Regions from separate parts of the Homo sapiens genome. Here region 1 is linked to region 2. The links are contacts of gene promoters, found by promoter capture Hi-C in human tissues and cell types (Jung and others, 2019). All regions are on one chromosome and are shown on one strand. Each heading gives the region's core, a stretch centred on a gene start or on the middle of the fragment in contact. The rest is flanking DNA. Distances are from core to core; before and after follow the strand shown. Region 1 overlaps LOC105378519 (a long non-coding RNA gene). Region 2 holds the start of ATE1 (arginyltransferase 1).

Evidence for each region. Contacts are between HindIII fragments. The study calls those that stand out against the background at their distance.
Region 1: a fragment that was not itself captured here is called in contact with the fragment with the promoter of ATE1 in region 2 in 1 of the 25 tissues and cell types used here (dorsolateral prefrontal cortex).

What each region holds. Positions count from the first base shown.
Region 1 is chr10:120,926,256-120,933,767 of GRCh38, forward strand. All of the region lies in intron 2 of LOC105378519 (a long non-coding RNA gene), which reads right to left. Among named protein-coding and RNA genes, the nearest start is that of WDR11, 79 kb to the left of the region's middle. The HindIII fragment of the contact is 4,762 bases long and covers 1-4,003 here.
Region 2 is chr10:121,926,781-121,931,094 of GRCh38, forward strand. ATE1 (arginyltransferase 1) reads right to left here and starts at 1,251. Exons shown (of 12, transcript NM_001001976.3): 1 at 1,064-1,251. The coding sequence starts at 1,169. It also overlaps the pseudogene ATE1OSP. RefSeq lists enhancers at 463-612, 1,151-2,017 and silencers at 923-1,342, 1,533-1,832, 3,654-3,948. The HindIII fragment of the contact is 7,909 bases long and covers 1-4,314 here.

The DNA.
Region 1 (7,512 bases), core at 373-2,872, 1.0 Mb before region 2:
GATTGACTCTCCAAATCTCTAAAATCACCCACCCTACAAGTGCAGAAAGCTTGTTCTGAGCAGAAAGGACTTGATCCGGAGCCAGGTAGATCACCTTCTCTCCTGGAGGCAGCTCTGGAAAAAGGCTCTTAGGCTTCTGGCAGTTCCTCCCCTGAGAATCTCACCCTCTGCAGGTCTCCTCCTGCCTGGGAAACAAAGTCTCTCCAGTCCTTTTGCTGCCTTATGCCCCTGATCCCTGCACCCCCGGACCGGACCCCCAGCCCCATCCCATCCATGGGAACCACCAAGCTCCAAGTACTTATTGAGCCACCACCTTCTTCCAGGGACTCACCACCCCTGTCGGGGGATGCAGGGTTGCAGTGGAGAGCAGCCAGCTGGGGTCATTGGGAATACCAGAGTTGGGGCTTGGATGGAAACTGAGTGGGGAGGGCAGCAGTTCTGGGGAGGTGGGAGGAGATGTAGGTAAGTGAAGGGGGCCAGGGAGCAGCCCTGCAGGTAGGGGGCCGGCCAGAGGCTGGCAGCAGGAGAGGAGACCCCTGCAGGCAGTATGGACAGTGGGGCAGAAGTGAGCAGGCGGGAGGGCACATGCCACTTGAGGGCCCGGTGTGAGCTCAGCGAGGGGATCCAGCCAGGGTCCCTCCTGCAGAGGAACCAGCCTCAGTGTGGTCCGAAGAGCCCCAGGAGCTCAAGAAGGTGGCAAAGCCATGGCAGGCAGAGGGAAACTCAGGGAGGGGAAAGAAAAGATCGGAACTGAGGGGAGTCCTGCAGCAGCTACAGCAGGGAAGTGGTTCTGCAGCACCGTTTCCAGATTGCAGGGCTCGTTTAGAACCGTCTCAGCCTGCTGGGGTGGGAGACTGGAGAGGAGCTGCCCACAGCCTCCAGGGTGTTGTCAGAGCTTGGTGCTTGCCCTGCTCTGTCGGCAATCAGCACGGTTGCTGTGATGACACTGAGCTGCCTTGGAAGGAGATGCACAGGTAATGGGGACCTTTCTCAGGAATGCCATAAACTGTGACATAGGCCTCTCCTCGGGACTTTACAAAGCCTTAGTGAAATTCTGAAATCCACCAAATGCTTAATGTGATTCGGTTTGGGGGAAAAGCCAGAGAGGGGAACTGAATGTTGAATCAAGATTGAAACAGCCTCAGCCCACATGATGATGTGAGCAGCCACACATTTAGGTCCCCAAAAGGGTCACTGATAGGGTCACACTGGTCTGGCCCAGGAAGGGTCTGTCTGCATCTGTGCTGAGAGCTGGGGCCTCTGGAGGGCTCAGCGGAACCAGGTGAGACCAGCCAGCACCAGCCTGAGTCCTCAGCCCCCGGGCACCAGAGGCCTTCCCACCTGACTCTGCCATGACAAGTGCCCTGACTGTCTGCGGTGTTCTAGAAAGGTGACCAACAGGTGTAGGCTAATTACATTTCAAAAAAGTTTTTTTTTTTCCCGGCACATATAACAGGACTAGTCCTCTCCCCTCTTCTCATCAGATTCCATTTCCTTTAGCAAACGCACACGGTGTTCGATTTAAGTGCAATTCTCAGAAAACTTAATAACTGCAGTGTTTAATTAGTCTGACAACATTTATTGAAGCGATGAATACAGAAAAAAGTACTTTCAAGGAAGAAAAATGATGTGTCATTGTTTTGTGTTTTCTTTTCTCAAATCTGTAGGCAGGTATGAAACCGAGCAGCAATCTCTGTCTTGAAAAGCTGGTATTTCTGTTTCTAGAACGTATGTGTGTTTGGGGTGGGGTATAGAATAGAGGGATGAACTGAGTCCTTCACCCACTACCTGGTCTGCTCACTCTGCCCACGCGTGTCCCCTCGGCAGCCCTGTGAGTGCCTGAGCTGTGGCTCCCCAGGCAGTGAAGAGCTAGGCCCTGGAGCCAGACCCCCAGAGGTGATTCCCAGCTCTGCCATTGCCATGCCTCAGTTTCCCCATCTGCAAAATTGGCTTAATGACAGTGCTTCCCTCTTGCAGTCATAAAGCTCTTAGAATACAGCTTGGCAGAAAAATGTTGCCTGTCACTATTTGTGCTGTAAAAGCCCTACCTCTTGGCCGAATGGAGCTCAGTAAACCAATGGGAGAAACAGGTCCCTTCTGAGATCTCCCTAGATCCCTATTCAGCCCCTGGTAGGCTCACAATAAGGGCTCAGTGTTTGTGGGAGTGAGTATCTGTGCAGAAGGAAGATCAGAATCCAGAGGTGACAGTTTAAGGTTAACATATTATTTTCCCAGCATTTCAAAAGAAAATGCCGTGAAACACTAGTCCCACAAGATATTCCTGAGAAAAAACAAATGGGATAGGAACCAAATGAGCTGGGAAAACAGGGCATTCAATGTCTCCCCTCAGAGATTCCCAGTGCACGCTTGCACTTCAAAGGCTCTGAGAAGTCCTACCATAAAGACACCTGCTTAAATGTGTTTCAGCCAATACTAGCTAAACTCATTTGCTGAGGAATTTCCTTCTCCCCTCTTTGCTTTCCCTCCCTCCCTTCCCTTCTCCCTCCCTCTCTCCCTCCCTTCCGTTCATGCTGTGAATGCCCCATGGAATCCATGCTGGATTAGGAGTGGGCACAGTTGCTCGAGAAGCACAGGAACTTGCTGGGTGTGCTACAGAAAGCCTTTGTTTTCTCTCTTTTTTTTTTTTTTTTTTTTTTTTTTTTTTTTTTTTTTTGAGACGGAGTCTCACTCTGTCACCCAGGCTGGAGTGCAGTGGCGCGATCTCCGCTCACTGCAAGCTCCGCCTCCTGGGTTCACTCCATTCTCCTGCCTCAGCCTCCCGAGTAGTTGGGACTACAGGTGCCCGCCACCACACCCAGCTAATTTTTTGTATTTTTAGTAGAGACGGGTTTTCATCGTGTTAACCAGGATGGTCTCGATCTCCTGACTTCGTCATCCGCCCACCTCGGCCTCCCAAAGTGCTGGGATTACAGTCGTGAGCCACCGCACCCGGCCTAGAAAGCCTTTCTAAGCAGGCAACAGAGCAACGATGCCACTCTCTCAATAGGATTTCTGGAAGGCCCAGCACTGCAGTACCAGGGAGGATCCAGGGGTCTAAGCCTTGTAGGAGGCTAGTACCTCAACCATGGAGACAGATGGTTTCTTTCCAGAGCACAGCCTCAGGGCTCCCTTTCAACTGATCTGACCTTGGCTGACGCTAAAGGATTTAATGTCTTTTCCCAGAGTGAAACTAAATCTTTTCTATATACGAAGCTGAGAGACCATCAGACAATTTTTTTCCAAGCCTAGAAGTTTCATGGGGAAGAAAACAACAAAAACACGTAAGCCAAATCAAACCAAACCAAAACAAAAGCAACCCTGAGAACAGAAACACACTAATGAGATTTCTGAGCCTTTAAAAGCTTCTGAATAATTCGTGCAACCACAACTTTCCTTCTTTTTTGTTTCTTAGGATTCCCAGGGTAAGAGGACTCAGCTTTGCCATGGTCCCTTCCAAGTGGCATCCTGTCTCTGCTTACACACCTCCAATGATGGGCTGCTCACTACCTCCCAGGCTGTCCCTTGTATTACTCTTAACTTCCATCACCAGAATGTGCTTTAGGTAACAGTAAGATGACTCCAGAGATCCCCCACATCAGACTGGTTGTCTAGTGTAGGCATTGAAACTCTGGATTCTGAATTAGGCCTCCTGGATTAGAACCCCAGCTCCACCATTTATGAGCTATGTACAAGTAGGCAACATGCCACATTCCTCTGTGCCTCAGTTTACTCACCTGCAAAATGGGGGATCATACACTGTACTTATCCCATAGGGTTGCTGAGTGATAACACTCATATCAGTGTGTGGCGCATAGTGCTATGCAAGGGTTTGATGCTATTCTTTTCTAAATTGTGATGACTTGGGACATTCAGCAGCGCAGTCTTTTCTAGATTCTCCATCAAGCACATACAGGTCTGCGCACCCAGCCTGGACATCAGCCCTTTGGACTTATACCAGGCAGCCATGTCCCAAAGGCACAGCCATGGCACCAGGAGGAAAAGGCCAGGGAACGACCAGGACACTGGGAGCTACTCTGCCCATCCACTGTGGTAAGTTCTTGTGCTGAAAGCTCAGGTCCTCAATCCAAACTATCCTCCCTTTAGATTATGGCCTCCTGGCCTCATTTTCTGATTCACTGAGGTTCATTCACTGAGACTTTGGACGTGAATGGTTGTGTAGCTCATCACCCTCTTCTCCTTCTGCTGGAACCTATGTGGCTGCCAATAATGAAGGGGTGTCTCTTAACTTCACTCACCATCTGCTTTCAAGCCTTGGGACCTGGTAAAGAAGCAGTGTCCCAGGTGGAACTCCCCAGGACCCTGGGACCAGGAACCTGTTGCCTCTTGCTGGAGATGGCCCTGAGGACATCTGGAGGCACTCCTAGTCCCCAGAGATGCTTCATCCCCCAGTCCACAGACCCAGTTTCCTGGCAGTGCCCTGCCTGTCTCTCTCCTGGGGATGTACACAGGTGCCCCACTGGAAGCAGCTAGAGAGTAGGTGAGGGACAGGGGGATGGAAAGGATATTGGGCCAGGTCAAAATACATCACAGATGGAAAACATCCAAGTGACCCGGATGGGAGAGCACCCATGAGTGGGTGTCCTGCTGGGCATCCCCCTAACCTCAGACTCTCAGGGAGTGAAGCTTCCATTGAGTCACCCTTGCCAAACCATGCGCCATATGATCCTCAGAGCTTCAGGGTAGCCACGATCACCCCACTTCACAGAGGAGTGAACTAGGCTCAGAGAGGTTGAGAAAACCAGGATGACCAACCATTCTGGATTGCCCCAAAAGGAGGAGTTTCCTAGGACACCAGACTTTCAACTAGGACAGTCCTTGGCAAACTGGGACAGTTGGTTGTGCTGCAATTAAGTGACAAATTTGGGATGCAAGTCAAAGCCCTGCCTGACATCCTGGTCTGAGCCACTTCCACTCTAACCAGCTTTCCAGAGGAGGGAGAATTTAGAAGGATCTGATCCCCAGTGATGCTGGAATCACAAGTGCTCTCTTCCTGCAGGAGGGGGAAGCTGAGTTCGGTCAGCAAATGAGACAGGAAGGCCCAGAAACCAGCAGGGGCCAGAATTAAAGGATTGTCTTCTTAGCCATGCTCTGTTGGAAAGAATGCAGTTTTCAAAACATTTTTAAACTTTTTTGCGCCGTGGACTTTGGACATTCCAAGTAAATCTATTTGCAACACTGGACCAAGTTATACCATTTTGGTTTGGGGTGCTTTCCTTTCATACAAAAACTACCAAAGAAAGCCATTGCTGCTTCTTCTGTCCTTATTTTTCTCTTGAACGAATAGCAGATGCTTTAGGGGAAATGAAACTGAACATGTTGGCTGAAAACCAAAACATCAGTCTACAGCATCTGGGCTTTAGAACCAGGATTCTTTTCCTGCTACCTTGGGGGTGGCTCTGTTTTTAATTACAAGGCCAGCAAATGACAGTGCTCGCTCCTGACAATGGCACCAGGGTCATTCTTCATGAGGACAGGGTCACAGTGGCCACTACTCATTCCAACGCTGGTCTCAGAGATTGTCATGCTCAGGGCCACCTTCCACTGTTTGATCTACTCAGGAATCCTGGTGAGATCAGATTCAATAAATAAACTAAATAAACCACCAATGAGGTTTAAATAAAGCTGTAACACTGCTTGCAGGCGGAAGCATTGTGACTGTTAAGATACCATAAACAGTCAGGATGTTGCCTGCACTTGCAGGGGGATGAGAATTTAAGAAAGCTCCAGAGAGGTTGCTCCGTTTCCTTGCATTTGCTTCCTGGCCCACCCCTACTCTCATCTCCTCCTTCCCATTTTCCTTTCCTACCCTGACCAACTTGGATGTTGGCCACTCCTAGTGAGGCTGGCTGAGAGTCTTGCTGGGTGTGAATTAGACCACGTGAAACCACTTGAGGTCATTAGAATGTTAAGTGGAGAAGCAAGTCCCGACTAACACAGAGTGGCCTGACCTCACTGTCCAGCTGCCAGAATGAGGGCAAAGGCTCATCTGAAAGTTCGTGAAGACCCAGCTCCCATCTGAACACACAGGGAGGCACTTGTGCCTTGGAGAACCAATGACATGGAATATACTCCTGGGAAAACCTCCCTTTGTGGCCTGGGCCTGTCAAGCAAATGGCACTTTTGGCCTTCGGTCATCAGATTGACCCTTATGTTCATTAGAGTCAGTAGGCTTTAAGCCATCAGTGGTTGAGGCAGCTTAACTCGTATACATGAGTGGGATTATGAATGGAAATGCTGTGTTTGAGAACTGAGCGGCTAGTGGCTTTTCATAAAGTCATCGCGATGCTTGGTGAGCCTCAGGCCCGGCCTCTGATGGACCTTCCCAGGGCCATCCTCCCACACCCTGAGCCACAGACATGAGCGTCCACCTGAGCTGACAATCAGGACTCTGGAACACCTGACTCTCCTGTAGTGGAGTGAATAGTATCCCTTCCAAATTCACCTCCATCTGGAACCTCAGAATGCGACCTTACATGAAAATAGGGTCACTGCAGATGTAATTAGTTAAAGATCTTGAGATGAAATGCAATGACTCCTATCTTCACAAGAAGAGAAGAGGACACAGAGACTCACACAGAGGGAAGAAGGACATTTGATAATGTGGGACAGAGATTGGAGTTGTGCTGCCATAAGCCAAGAAATCCCAAGTTTTGCCAGTCACCTCCAGAGGCTAAGAAGAGGCAAGGAGGGTCCCCCCACTAGAACCTGCAGAGAGAGCCTGGTCCTACCAACCCTGATTTCAGACACCTGGTCTCCAGAACTGCTAGAGAACAGTTTTCTATTGTTTTAAGCTAGCACATTTGTGGTCATTTGTTACGGCAGCTCTAGGAAGCTAACCACCTCCAATGAACAAAAATGAGGACCCAGAATTCTTCTGGGTCCTCTTCAAGTTGTAGAGATAATCCCCCTGCATTTTGCCCAAAAGACTAAGAATTCTAACTCTACCCTCCTGTCCTTCTTTCTGGCTGAGGGTGGCTAGGAGGAGGCCTTTTGCTTGTGTTTGTTTTACTTGGAGTCCTTGTCAGGTAAGGACCCACTTTCTAAAAAGAAAAGGATGTCCTTCAGTTGCACCTTTGGACTTAGAAATTCCATTTGCAGCCAGATTTACACCACAGGCTCAGTACCTTCGGCCTCCATCACCATGTTCAGCAGCCCTCCCAGGCTTGGTGGCATTTCTTTCTGTTGTCTGCTGCTGATCAGAGGGAACTATGAACACCCAGCAAGTCCCAAACTCATAGCCTGGGGAACGTCCAGCTTGTCAAAGACATTGGACCCATGATGGTGGCTTGGGGAAGGTTCCAGAGTCAGGGAATCTCTTTGGCTTTAGCGTTCTAACTTTCTGGAGCCCAGAATCCCTTTTGCCAATACATTCCAATCTGTGCTCCTTGGAACTGTAATGCCCTGCAAAATATTAATAAACATTTTTAAAGCATCATGATCAAATATGTCTGGGAACTGCCAACATAAATATAATTAAATGGCTTTCTTACT
Region 2 (4,314 bases), core at 1-2,500:
GTAATCATGTCGCATAAGCCATTTGCATCCTGTTGATTTTCTCCGTTTAAGTCCAAACTGGAAGCATTTTTCCATTTAGTCTTCATAATCCTCACTTCTAACGATTGCATAACTGTCTACTCAAAACCGCTGCCCACAAGTAGCACTTAATAAACACTTTTAATGAAGGAGCAAATGCACACACCGTTATCGACCAAATCATTCCCCACTTACACCTTTTTCATGGAAAATGCCTGTGTGTTTTCATGCGAATCTCGTTTTCCACAAAGCTAGACTGTTCTATTAAAATAATAGAGTCTACATTCTATATTGGCAAATGCATGGCAAGAGAGGAAATAAACACGATGTTTTGTTTACCAGCAACAAATCTCCCCCAAAGAAATCTGAATCACGATGGAAAAACAAAACAAACTTGTGGGCTGGCTTTGCTGTCGTCCGGGTGGGTGGAGGAAAGACACGGCATATAAGCAAATGGTAAAAATTTCAAACAGATCAGGACAAACAGAATCCCTCGCCGGTAGCGACCGCGGTCACCAGTTTCTTGTCCTTTTTTTTTTTAACTTTTTTTTTTTTTAACCCAGAGATGCAAAGGGCTCATCCTTCCTGTACATTCGTCCAGGGAAGTCTGATTCATACATGACCGGCACCTGTGTGCACACCCACAGCTCCCTCTGCACCGCGTTTCGCCCTCGCTCCCGGGACGCTCCCACCGCAGCACCCACCGGTCAGCCCCGGCCATTAACTACGGCTCTGGGGCGTTCCCTGGCACTGCGCGCCGTCCTTCACCTCACACAATCTACCCCAGACGGGCGTCCGTCTCCCGACTCTGGGGAGACCACCACGATTTCGAGAGTACGGGCACCGGTTAGGATTTTCCTGCAGAACAGGCACCGCGAAGCTGCCCCGCTAAGCCGGCGCCGCGGCCCTCCCGAGAGTGCCCCCTCCGTCTCGGCCGTGGCACTGGGGCCAGGGGCTCCGGCCCCCTCGCGTCCTCGCTGGGGGACCCTGGGATCCCGAGACCCGGGCGCCCGGCTTCCCACGCCCGCCGGCCCGGCTCGCTCACCATTGGAGCGGCTGCCCGACTCGTTCTTGCAGTAGCCGCAGCGGTAGAAGTCCTCGCTAGGGAAATAGTCCACGACGCTGGGCGAACCCCCCGCCCAGAAAGCCATGGCCTCGGCCCCGCGAACGCTCAGCCGCCCGGCCCCGCGTCGCTAGCGCGGCCGCCGCCGCCACCCCACAATGCAGCGCGCCGCCCGGGAGCCTCCCGAGGCTCGCGCGAAGCCACTCGGGCGCCCGCAGGCCCGGCCGGCCCGGCGCCTCTTGGAGCTGACGCCGCCCGCGCCATCTTGACCGAGGGCAGCTTTCCACTATTTCCGTTCCTTCTCCATAAGGGGCCGCCGTCGTCAGTGAGGGTGAGGCGGAGAGACAGAGCGGGAAGGGAAACAGGATGGGGAGAGTCAAGAGGGGAAGGGAAGCGGGAGTCGGGGTGCGAGCCTGCCCTTTCCCCCGCCGAGGGCCTGTGCGGGGCGCGGCGGCCGCGCCAACTCCGGCGTCGGGAACACTCACCGCAGGACGCTTTGCCCTCCTTGGAATCGCAGTAGCCGCAGTGGTAGCCGGCCCTGAGGCCCTTGTATTCCACCACCGACGCCATGGCCGCCGCGAGGGTCCGCTCGGGCCGACCACGCCTCTTGGCGCCCGGGGCCGACCTCGGCGAAGCGCTGGGGCCCGCGGCGGGAGGGGTGGAGAGCGAAGCCTGGCGCGGGGACCCGTGGGCGGGGATGGTGGTCGTGTCCCCAAGCCCTGCGTTTGGGCCGGTGCTTCCCACAGCTGTGCGTTATCAGCCCCATTTCACAGGTAAGGAAACTGAGGACCGGAGGTTGTGATTATCCCAAAGTCATTCCCGGCGGGTCTCGGATTGAAAGTCAGGCCGCCCCTGGCCACCGTGTAAGTGACTTGCTGGAGCTGCTTCCAGACCAGCTGGCACGCACTCCAGTGCCCTGAATACAAGAACACAAGCAGGTATTCCGTGAATGGCGAGGGTTCGCAAATTAAAGAACTCTTAACGGCTTTTAAAGGAAACAACTGTCAGCTAGAGACAGTTGCTGTCTTGTACCACTATAAGTCCGGTGCCTCATACGATTTTTAATGAGATGCTGGAAATACAGGGTTTGTTTGTTTTTTTTAACTCTACAGTCCAAACAAAACAGTTTTACAGGCTGAATCCAGCCCATGGGCCTCCATTTTGCAACCACTATTTTAAGGAAGATTTAAGGAATAAGAGTCTAGGGCAAAATATAAAATTGAGGCTCATGCCTGTAATCCCAGCACTTTGGGAGGCCGAGGCGGGCGTATCATGAGGTCAGGAGATTGAGACCATCCTGGCTAACACGTGAAACCCCGTCTCTACTAAAAATACAAAAAATCAGCCTGGCGTGGTGGTGGGCGCCTGTAGTCCCAGCTAGTCGGGAGGCTGAGGCAGGAGAATGGTGTGAACCCGGGAGGCGGAGCTTGCAGTGAGCCGAGATCACGCCGCTGCACTCCAGCCTGTGTGACAGAGCAAGACTCCATCTCAAAAAAATTTTTTAAAAAATGAGTTCCAGGGGCGGGCGCGGTGGCTCACGCCTGTAATCCCAGCACTTTGGGAGGCCGAGGCGGGTGGATCACGAGGTCAGGAGATAAGAGACCATCCTGGCTAACATGGTGAAACCCCTTCTCTACTAAAAAATACAAAAAATTAGCGGGACGTGGTGGCACGCGCCTGTAGTCCCAGCTACTCGGGAGGCTGAGGCAGGAGAATGGCGTGAACCCGGGAGGCAGAGCTTGCAGTGAGCAGAGATCGCGTCACTGCACTCCAGCCTGGGCGAAAGAGCGAGACTCCATCTCAAAAAAAAAAAAAAAGAGTTCCAACAAGGTAATATGCCTTATCTTTCCCTCTGCGTGCACAGATAATTTAAGCCTGTCTGTCCTCATAGTTTTCCCAGTCAACAATAAAGCTGATGATACAATATTGTTTTAAGTGTGTTTAAAAAAGTGAAATGAAACTCAGAGAAATAGAAATAAATTTTTGAGGTGAGTTTTGACATTCTTGACCCCAAGGGCCTGTGTTAGATATGTACCTAGCTGAAGGAGGTTTCTTGGTGGCCTGGTGACTTGTTGAAGGGGGCCAGCCCCTCCACACCTGTGGGTGTTTCTCGTCAGGTGGGACGAGAGACTGAGAAAAAAAGTAAGACACAGAGACAAAGTGTAGAGAACAGTGGGCCCAGAGGACCAGGGCTCAGCATACGGAGGACCCGCGCCAGCACTGGTCTCTGAGTTCCCTCAGTATTTATTGATCACTATCTCTACCATCTCGGTGAGGGGGATGTGGCAGGACTATAGAGTAATGGTGGGGAGAGGGTCAGCAGGAAAACGTGAGCAAAGATCTCTGTGTCATAAGTTTAAGGAAAGGTGCTATGCCTCAATGTGCACGTAGGCCAGATTTATGTCTGGCTTTACACAAACATTTTAGTGCAGTAAAGAGCAATATTGCCGCCAGCATGTCTCACCTCCAGCCATAAGGCGGTTTTCTCCTATCTCAGTAAATAGAACGTATGATCGAGTTTTACACTGAGACATTCCATTCCCAAGGAAAAGCAGGAGAGAGATGCCTTCCTCTTACCTCAACTGCAAAGAGGCCTTCCTCTTTCACTAATCCTCCTCAGCACAGACCCTTTATGGGCTGGGGGACGGTCAGGTCTTTCCCTTCCCACGAGGCCATATCTCAGGCTATCACATGGGGAGAAACCTTGGACAATACCTGGCTTTCCTGGGCAGAGGTCCCTGTGGCCTTCCACAGTGCATTGTGTCCCTGGATACTCGAGATTAGAGAATATCAATGACTTTTACCAAGCATACTGTCTTCAAACACATTTTTAACAAAGCACATCCTGCACAGCCCTAAATCCATTAAACCTTGAGTCAACACAGCACATGTCTGTGCAGGCACAGGGTTGGGGCTAGGGTTACAGATTAACAGCATCTCAAGGCAGAAGAATTTCTCTTAGTACAGAACAAAATGGAGTTTCTTATGTCTACTTCTTTCTACGAAGACACAGTAACAGTCTGATCTCTCTTTGTTTTCCCCACGCTTGTTAATACTGCCAAGCATCACTTGTGCCTCCCACAATCGGAAGGCACCTAAGGAGTGGCCATGTAATATCCAGCAGCTTCTCAGGCGTTCCTCCAACTTCTTAAACTTGAAAACTGCATGCTATATCTCAGTATTCATGTTCTTAAGTCAAGCTTCATCCATTTTGTTCTTTATGGCAGATTTGA